Linked DNA regions of Homo sapiens: region 2 is linked to region 1. The links are contacts of gene promoters, found by promoter capture Hi-C in blood cells and fetal thymus (Javierre and others, 2016). All regions are on one chromosome and are shown on one strand. Each heading gives the region's core, a stretch centred on a gene start or on the middle of the fragment in contact. The rest is flanking DNA. Distances are from core to core; before and after follow the strand shown. Region 1 holds the start of NRAS (NRAS proto-oncogene, GTPase). Region 2 holds the start of LAMTOR5 (late endosomal/lysosomal adaptor, MAPK and MTOR activator 5).

Region 1 (3,795 bases), core at 1,296-3,795:
TTCCTGGAAAAGATTAAGAAAACACAGTAACTCAAATGACAACTCTACTGCAGCCAGGAGGCTACAGATTAAGTACCCAGTGTATTTCACTAAGCTATGAACTGGACTGTTTTATTTGTGCTGTTTATTTTACTTAAAGAAATCTAAACATACCTCCACCAATTATAACCTGGCCCTATATACATCATTTGTGTTTATGACTAAATATACAAATACCTTTGTTTCAGAGAAGGTTTTTTTTTTATCATGACAGATGTACCTTTGGGAAATATTCCTGAATCAAATTCTTAAAGGTTCCAAACAAGGTATAGTTATGTTTAATTTCTCAGGAAGACAAACATGCATAGATCATATAAAAAATACTTTCATTTTGGTTTTATGGCAACAGGACTTTTACTTGTATTTTAATGTCATCACACTTGGAGAACTCTCTGGAGTACTGGAAGTGCTCTATACTGTTATCTGGGTGGTAGCTACATGACTATATAGAAACGCAAAAAGCACTGGGCTGTAGACATAAAATTTATGTATTTTACTTATGTAAATTGCTCAATAAATCAAACATTTAAAAATATTTAATTAAAATATTAAACATTTCATGTAAAATATTAAAGCTGTTAAGCTCAAAATAAAGATTTTGCCAAGGGTTAGCAACCAATTTTTTATAGTGGCTACATTAGAGTTAGTTTTCATCAATTAAACACGAGTAGCCAGATGGTAGGGAGGCCAGGTGTTGATTAAAATAATCTCTAAAGTTAGGCATTTCTAAACTGAACAAAATTACAAAACCCTTTATTTATTTATCTATTTATTTATTTTTTGAGACGAAGTCTCGCTCTGTTGCCCAGGCTGGAGGTCTGTGGTGTGATCTCGGCTCACTGCACCCTCTGCCTCTGGTTCAAGCGATTCTCCTGCCTCAGCCTCCTGAGTAGCTGGGATTACAGGTGCCTGCCACCACACCCAGCTAATTTTTGTATTTTTAGTAGAGACGGGGTTTCACCATGTTGATCAGGCTGGTCTTGAACTCCTGACCTTGTGATCCGCCTGCCTCAGCCTCCCAAAGTGCTGGGATTACAGGCGTGAGCCACCGTGTCCGGCAAAACCCTTTATTTAAAGAGCCTTAGGTGCCACTTACTGAAGACAATCTGTACCATGAACTCTCATAATAACAATAGAATCCCTAAGTACTATTACATAGTGCTTTACCATTCATAAATAACTTAAATATATTATTTAACTTTCCATAACATCCCTGTGTGGTAGGCAGGACAAGTTTATGGTAATTTAAAACATGAGGAAAATGAGGTTGGGAGAGATTCAGTTGCTCAATATCACACAACTAAATAAACTGCAAACAGGGACCAAAATCCTAGGCATAAAGACTAAAAATCTCAAGTTCTTGCTACTCCAATCATCTGGTCTCAGCTGCTTCAACTAGCTAATAAATAAATATTGAAGAACACTCATCTCTGAATCCTTTATCTCCATCCTATTATCTCCCATACAATCAGACAGTCTCGCTACTATGGCCTGTGTTTCTCATGTAATAGAGCTGTTATATATGAAGAAACTCATGAATGAACTCAACACTGAGTTTGCAATAGTTTACAGAACTGTTAAAAACTGGACAGGTTTTAGAAACTTCAGCAGCTAATAAAAATGAACTGTTCTCTATAAACACGTTAAGCTTATTGCATAACTGAATGTATACCCAAAATAACTTTTTACTTTCTCTCCTCTTATTCCTTTAATACAGAATATGGGTAAAGATGATCCGACAAGTGAGAGACAGGATCAGGTCAGCGGGCTACCACTGGGCCTCACCTCTATGGTGGGATCATATTCATCTACAAAGTGGTTCTGGATTAGCTGGATTGTCAGTGCGCTTTTCCCAACACCACCTGCTCCAACCACCACCAGTTTGTACTCAGTCATTTCACACCAGCAAGAACCTGTTGGAAACCAGTAATCAGGGTTAATTGGCGAGCCACATCTACAGTACTTTAAAGCTTTCTATAATCAATGGAAATGAAAACCCTAGTGTGACCTTCCATTTGGTTCTTAAAGTGACTAGAGAACGCAAAAACACCGGATTAATATCGGCCTCACACTTCTGGAGTAGTTTTCTAGCAACCCCCATCCTTAGCTATTTTTCAACAGTCCTTGGGCCCCGCCCTCAGCCTAAGCAATGGAAATCCCCCTTCCTATTACTCCCCGAAGGCTTCTCAGCTCTAGCAGGAAGCCTCCAGGCCGCAACTCCTTCCCATTCTCCCTTCTGTCTCCAAAGATCTCCCCACGTAGGCACCAAATGGAAGGACCCCCGCCCAAGGCCTTTGTCTCCAGCTGATAGATTCTGCTCCATTTCTGGCATCAGTGAAACGCCTGAACATTCCACAGCCCAAAGCCGAACACTATGCATGAGATAAACTTACCTCAAGCTCCACTGCCTCTGCTTTGGACAGATTTAGGACCACAGCCGGGAAAAATGTTGGAGACCCCGGAACCGCCATGAACAGCCCCCACCAAGGAGCGGCACTTCCGGCCCCGCCCGCTACGTAATCAGTCGGCGCCCCAGGCGCCTGAGTCCCCGCCCCGGCCACGTGGGCCTCCGAACCACGAGTCATGCGGCAGGCCGCACCCAGACCCGCCCCTCCCACACGGGACGTTTCAATAATGAAAGCGCTAGGTGCTAGTGTCTCAAAAATCAGTAAAACTTTATTCGCTTCCATTCTTTCGCCATTAACAGAAAACTGGAGAAAGCAAAAATGTTTCGTGTTTACAAAGATAAACGGCCTCTTTACCCAGAGATCAAAACCTCAAACGACAAGGGGGAAGATAAAACCGCCCTCCCCCACATCCCCTGAGCTGACCCTTGTCATCTTAGACAAAGCCTTCAGTCCACTGGCCAGGGACCCTGTATATGGCCAATTCAAGAAGAGGGCCAAGAAATCAGACCCATCCATTCCCGTGATATAAAGTTGAACAGAAGCTACACCAAGGGTCAAGTGTCTGTATTTTACAGGACACAGTAACCAGGCGGCTACTTATAAAAAAAAACAAGATTCATTTCAGGCACAACTTTTTTATTTTTTTTTGTTTTGTTTTTAAATCAGTAAAAGAAACCGGGTCCTAGAAGCTGCAGTGATCTAAGCAGCAGCAAGTTTGTGCATTCATTTTTTTTGTTTTTGTTTAAATATGTTTAAATTATCACACTGCTGGCACTCCTCATTTGCATGAAATTCTGCACCATACTTACTAATTGTAGTAAAGTTACCCCCCAACCCACGAAAAAAAACCTACTCTGGAAGAAAATTTTCACTGAAATATAACCAAACTTCTTTAAGTGGATTGTGACAAGATTATAAATGATATGAAAAATAACATTTTAAAATTTGGCCATCAACTTTAAGAAATGGTTTGCCTATACAAATTTTTGTAATTTTTAAAAGATAATATATTCTACCCTCATATGGTCCTCAGAATTAAAGCATAATGAACAGGAAGAAAAAGGAAAAGAATGCAACTGAGTGCTAAGGCAGAACATCTTGCCAGAAGTAATTAATGAAGGTAGAGTATATAATGAAAAGTGCAGAATTTCATAGGGCCAACAAGATAACAGTCTATATTTTTCACTTACACAGGCAAAGTGGATTCTGCAATTACCAGTTGCGTTAAATGCACCAAATAAAGCTCCTAAAATTGATACTATAAGGCGCCACCTTAAGTTTTTCCAGGCTGCAACTGTGCATTATTTAAAATGGTTTTCTTAAATTTATTTATTTTTTTAAACATAAC
Region 2 (5,890 bases), core at 3,214-5,713, 4.3 Mb before region 1:
GTAGCAGTTGTATATATATACTTTTTTTCACATATTATTCTGAGGACCATCACTTGGAATATCTTTAGTAATTTTATTGCTTTAGAAGTAATTTTTGGCTGGGTGCAGTGACTCATTCCTGTAATCCCAGCACTTTGGGAGGCTGAGGCGGGCAAATTACTGGAGCCCAGGAGTTCGAGACCAGCCTGGGAAACATGGTGAAACCTCATCTCTACAAAAAAATACAAAAATTAGCTGGGTGTGGTAGTGTACACCTGTAGTCTCAGCTACAACTCGGGAGGCTGAGTTGGGTGAATCGCTTGAGCCCGGTGGGGTTGAAGTCACAGTGACCCATGATCACACCACTGTACTCCAGCCTGGTGCCAGAGCAACACCCTGCCTCAAAAAGAAAAAAAAAAAAAGTAATTTTTATTCTCTGATTAGTTTTCCTTTGTGCTATTTGTTACTTTCTTTTTGTTGGTAAACTGATAGCTTCTGCCAATTCTTATTCTTCATTTAAATAGCATTGTGGCCTGAGAGCACATTAGCTTTAGGGATCAACTTGTCTGTTCCTGTGATTCAAAAGATTAAGAACTTTTCCCAAAGTAGTCTGAATAAGGAATCACTGATGAACACAGGGCCGGCCCCCGCCAATTTTACCAGGAATTTTTCTGAACAAAAAGGAAAGGATCTGCTGAAATCTACTCACCCATTATCTGATTCTAGACACACCACAGGAATATCAGTGGGGTCAGAGGTTAGCTTAGCTGCTTGCTGGGCTAGAACAGATATCACTCCAGCATGCTCATCTGACAGGGTCCCGCGGCCTGGAAAATAGAGATGATATATGTCACCTGATTGCTCATAGAGTATTTCTGCTAAAATAAGCTAGCTGGCTGTTTTAAAATGTCTACAGAATTGTCTTTTTATTAATGTCTGTATTAGTCTGTATATATTATAGTAACTAAATCTCGGGTACAAAAGTACCTATAAATTCTAGGTACGAAAATTAATTACTAAGTGTACTTTACAATATATTTCTGTATATAAAGGCAACACAAAGTTAACTGTACCTGAAACCAAATCAGGTAATAGACATGCCACTATGGCAGAGCATTTGGATGTACTATTACTATACAAAACATTTTGACCAGATCCGATGCCGACGTTTGAGCCTTGAAGGTTTCTTGAAGGAACTCATTTAGTTTTAGATTTCCATACCTGAATTTCAGTCTTTCCATTAGTAAGCCTAGCAAATGCTTCCAAAAATTTACCCTTTTTCTCCCAAATGACTGATCTGCATGTTAAACATAACTGAGTTACACCGATTACCTCTTTCAGTTACCCTTCCAGCAAAAATTCAGAGCTTTAAACATTCCTGCATTAGGAGCAACAAGTCTTGGGTTTACTAGTTGTCACTAATTAACTGAATGCTTTACTTATTTACCTTTCCAAACTTATTTCCTCATGTGTAATTGCTACCATTTATTAAGTATTATGTCTCAGTTCTATGTAAGCATTTTATACATATTATATAACCTTAAAATATCGTGATTAGGCCGGGTGTAGTGGCTCATTCCTGTAATCCCGCACTTTGGGAGGCGGAGGTGGGTGGATCACCTGAGATAAGGAGTTCGAGACCAGCCTGGCCAACATAGTGAAACCCTGTATCTACTAAAAATACAAAAATTATCTGGGCGTGGTGGCAGGCGCCTGTAATCCCAGCTACTCAGGAGGCTGAGGCAGGAGAATTGCCTGAACCTGGGAAATGGAGGTTGCAGTGAGCCAAGATCGTGCCACTGCACTCTAGCCTGGGCGACAGAGCAAGATTTCGTCTCAAAAAAAAAAAAAAAAAAGTGATTAAGAGGCCTCAGGGCCAGACAAAAATCCTAGCTTAACGACTTACTAGCTGCATGACCTCAGGCAAGTTATTTAACCTCTGTGTCTCAGTTTCTTTTTTTATTTTTTGAGACAGAGTCTCGCTCTTGTCATCCAGGCTGGAGTGCAATGGTGCAATCTCGGCTTACTGCAACCTCTGCCTCCCAGGTTCAAGCGATTCTCCTGCCTCAGCCTCCCGAGTAGCTGGGATTACTAGCACCTGCTACCATGCCTGGCTAATTTTTTTTTGCATTTTTAGTAGAGATGTGGTTTCACCATGTTGGCCAGGCTAGTCTCGAACTCCTGACCTCAGGTGATCCACCCGCCTCCGCCTCCCAAAGTGCTGGGATCACAGGTGTGAGCCACCGCATCCGGCCTCTTTTTTTAAATTTTAAAAACATATATATATGTTTATTGTAAAAATAGAGATGGGGGGTCTCACTGTGTTGCACAGGCTGGTCTTGAACTCCTGGGCTCAAGTGATCTGCCCACCTTGGTCTCCCAAAGTGCTGGGATTACAGGCGTGAGACACTGCACCTGGTCCCTCAATTTCTTTTTCTACCTCACTGGGTTGTTATGAGGAATAAAAGAGTATATGTAAAGCACTTACAATGGTGCTTGGCACATAACAGCTCAATAAATATAATTCTATGATTATTACCATTATCAAATAACAACCCAGTGAAGAAAATGAGGGCCTAAAAGGTAGTTTTTTGGTCCACGTTCACACTACTAACAAATGAAAGAGCAAGGGATTGAGACCAGGTATGTCCAACACTGAAATCCCATTTTACTGCCTATTCACTTCTTGTTTAGTGTAGTTGAGCTTCAAAATTGTACACCACCCACCTTGCCGGGTTGTTGTGAAAATTAAAGATAATGTATTTAGAGCCTAGCAGTCTCAGCATATGGCATACATTCAATAAATGGTTAACAGCTGTTATTATCTGAAGTCCTTTCTAGACTCAATTTAAAATGATTCAAATATTATTTTTAGTAGAGACAACTATTTATTGTTATAGGACTGCAAGGAACATCTTCCTTCATAAATACCAACTGAAAAGTTTCAATTTTCTGATACTGTTATTTGGAGATAATCTCTACTCTCAAACTCAGAAAGACCTGGCAAGGTAACAGGAAATAAAAGCTAGAAAATAATAGCACGCTAGGCTCCAAGTCAACATCAGATGCTATGCAATTCATCAAATAGTTGGTATGAGAGATACTTACAACCCAGATTAAGTCCTTGTGAATCTGTGCACAGGACTCCAACAATGGAGGGATTCTTCATTCTAATTCCAGGAACACAAGAGAGTTGAAGTACATAATGGGAGAAAAAGGATTTAAATAAGTACAAACATACAGGTGTTCTATGTACCAGGCATTAAGTGCTTTAAATCAATATTTCTCAATCTTTTTTCATTGTCACACCCTAAGAAAAAAATTAAGTTCTAGGGCCGGGCGCGGTTGCTCACGCCTGTAATCCCAGCACTTTGGGAGGCCCAGGTGGGCGGATCACCTGAGGTCGGGAGTTCAAGACCAGCCTGACCAACATGGAGAAACCCCGTCTCTACTAAAAATACAAAATTAGCCAGGCGTGGTGGCGCATGACTGTAATCCCAGCTACTCGGGAGGCTGAGGCAAGAGAATCGCTTGAACCTGGGAGGCGGAGGTTGCAGTGAGCCGAGATCACGCCATTGCACTCCAGCCTGGAAGACGAGCGAAATTCCGTCTCAAAAAAAGAACACAAAAAATTTAAGTTCTAGTTAATTAATTGAAATAAACCAGTTTCTCTCTGATGAGAGAAAAAAATGTGCTAAGTACTGCTGAGTTCTGGAGGGCCACAAACACTGCGTGAAAAACATCTAGGATGTTTTCACTCTTGTTAAAAACGCATGTTTTAGTACTAACTCATTTAAAACAACTGTTGAAAAACTCAAGTTACCTCCTGGAGGGTAAGTGGAAGCTGAGGGACATCGGTGGGAGGCAGGTGTCTCTCTGTACCCTTTACACTTTTCCAGTTTTGAATTTTACATAGATACTGCTTGTTCGAAAAATTTAAAGAATGATTTTTATCTACTTAAGCACCAAGTAACTGATAGGTTACACACAGGAGATACGTGTTTGTTTACACTGCAGGGCTCGACACTGCACAACTGGCACAATCTTCCCAAAAGTCAACCCGTTTTCTAAAACTTCCGCAGAACCACCCTGACCGTAAAGACGATTTCAACAACGAGATAGGCAGTTTTGGCCCGTGGCCTGGGCCCGGGAGACTCGCTCAAGAGGGAATGTGCGGTGCCCGGCAGGATTTTAATTCCGGGTCACCCGCCCCGCCCTGCGGCCTTGGGTAGAGTTTAGCCCCCTCATCCCGTGTCCCGGGGGTCGCGCGACGTCCCCGAGACGCCCTGGCCGGTACTCGCAGCTCGCGCCTTTCGTTCCGCTCAAGTTCCTCCGCCGCGACCTCAGGACAGGCCGAAGAGGCGCGCACTACTCACGTGTCTTCCAAGTGCTGCTCCAAGGTCGCCTCCATCCCACCCACCGACCACTCCGGCTCAGAACCCAGCGGCACGGCACGTCCTTCTCCACCACAGGCCTCAGTCACTTGACGCGAGCGGGGCGTGGACCGTAACGGCGCCTCCAAAGGGACAAAATTGATCACGGTGCAACGTCCGCGTTCTTTACTGGAAAACATCACTGCGCTTCCGTCGCACAGAGCCTGACGAAGGCTTGGGCTCCCCGCGCGGTGACCGTCGAGGTGACCTGCACCTGGCTCCATGGCGGAACCGGCCGGCACGGATTATTCCCCTCTCGGGAGAGGTCTGCAGCCGGGCCTCAGTGCTTCAGTTCGTGGCCTGGCATTTTGTGTCAGTGTTTTTTAACCTTTGGACCCTAGTTCAACCGACTCCGAGACCTAGGGGACAGATCTTAAGTTTTACAATAACCCAGGGGTCAGACAGGGTCTGATCTAGCCTGTGGGGCAAGTACGGGGAAGACACGGGACCTCTTGGAGGGGGTCAGTAGGCTTGTAGGGGGAAAGACGCACACAGAGACTAAAGGACGAGATGGAGCAAGGTTCAACCCCCTAGCTGAGTGTTGGCAGTGTCGGGATTTTAACGAAGACATTGGTGCTTATTATGGTGAGGGGACTCAGGACAGTTTAGGGGAAGAGAGTGGCATTTGAGTCCTAACTCGTAAGGAAGACTGGGTAGGACTACTTGAAAATAACTTTTAAAAATTAATTATAAAGCTGGTAAAAATAGGAAAACATCTATGGCCCCACTGTCCAAAGACGACTTTTAACTTCTTGGAGAATATCCTTTCAGATAGTTGTCTTTGTAAATGTATACTTTTAATGTTTTTTCGTTTGCCTTTTTAAAATAAATTTTTTGGGGGACAGGGTCTTGCTCTGTTACCCAGGCTGTAGTGCAGTAGAACGATTATAGCTCATTGCAACCCGGACGTCCTGGGTTCAAGCTATCCTCACCTCTCAGCCTCTCGACTGGCTAGGACCACAGCCTCGAGCCATCATGTCTGGCTAATTTTTACGTTTTTTTGTAGAGATGGGGGTCTCGCTGTGTTGTCCAGGCTGGTCTTAAACTCCTTGCTTCAACAGATCCTCCCACTCCAGCCTCCCAAAATGTGATTACAGGCTGAGTCACCACGCCTAGCATGGTTTTTTTTGTTTTGTTTGTTTTGTAAGCAAAATTGACATACATACTGGAGGTACAATTCTGTAGCTGGCCTTCTTTACAGAGTTTAGAATAAATGTCTTTCCATGTCAAGTTTTCACTTACATCCTTTGTAGTAGTTGCAAAATATTCCATTTTATAGCTGTATCTTAATTGTGGATTAAGGTTGGAGTGCAGTGGCACTATCATGGCTTAGTCCAGCCTCAGCCTTCTAGGTTCAAGCGATCTTCCCACCTCAGCCTCCCAAGAAGCTGGGACTACAGGGACCCGCCACCCCACCTAGCTAATTAAAAAAAAAATTGTAGAGATGGAGTCTCAGTGTGTAGCCCAGTCTCAAGTGA

What was found. The method cuts DNA at HindIII sites, captures the fragments that hold promoters and counts their contacts. A CHiCAGO score of 5 or more calls a contact.
Region 2: the fragment with the promoter of LAMTOR5 here is called in contact with the fragment with the promoter of NRAS in region 1 in 1 of 17 cell types (non-activated CD4 T cells); the score reaches 6.6 in non-activated CD4 T cells.

The regions. Positions count from the first base shown.
Region 1 is chr1:114,714,226-114,718,020 of GRCh38, forward strand. NRAS (NRAS proto-oncogene, GTPase) reads right to left here and starts at 2,546. Exons shown (of 7, transcript NM_002524.5): 1 at 2,433-2,546; 2 at 1,825-1,952. The coding sequence starts at 1,935. It overlaps CSDE1 (cold shock domain containing E1), which reads right to left. Exons shown (of 20, transcript NM_001007553.3): 20 at 2,691-3,795. RefSeq lists enhancers at 2,242-2,341, 2,352-2,551. The HindIII fragment of the contact is 3,751 bases long and covers 2,008-3,795 here.
Region 2 is chr1:110,403,231-110,409,120 of GRCh38, forward strand. LAMTOR5 (late endosomal/lysosomal adaptor, MAPK and MTOR activator 5) reads right to left here and starts at 4,464. Exons shown (of 4, transcript NM_001382293.1): 1 at 4,356-4,464; 2 at 3,088-3,149; 3 at 689-806. The coding sequence starts at 4,390. It overlaps LAMTOR5-AS1 (LAMTOR5 and SLC16A4 antisense RNA 1), which reads left to right and starts at 4,579. Exons shown (of 3, transcript NR_102697.1): 1 at 4,579-4,724. RefSeq lists an enhancer at 4,406-4,635. The HindIII fragment of the contact is 8,453 bases long and covers 1-5,890 here.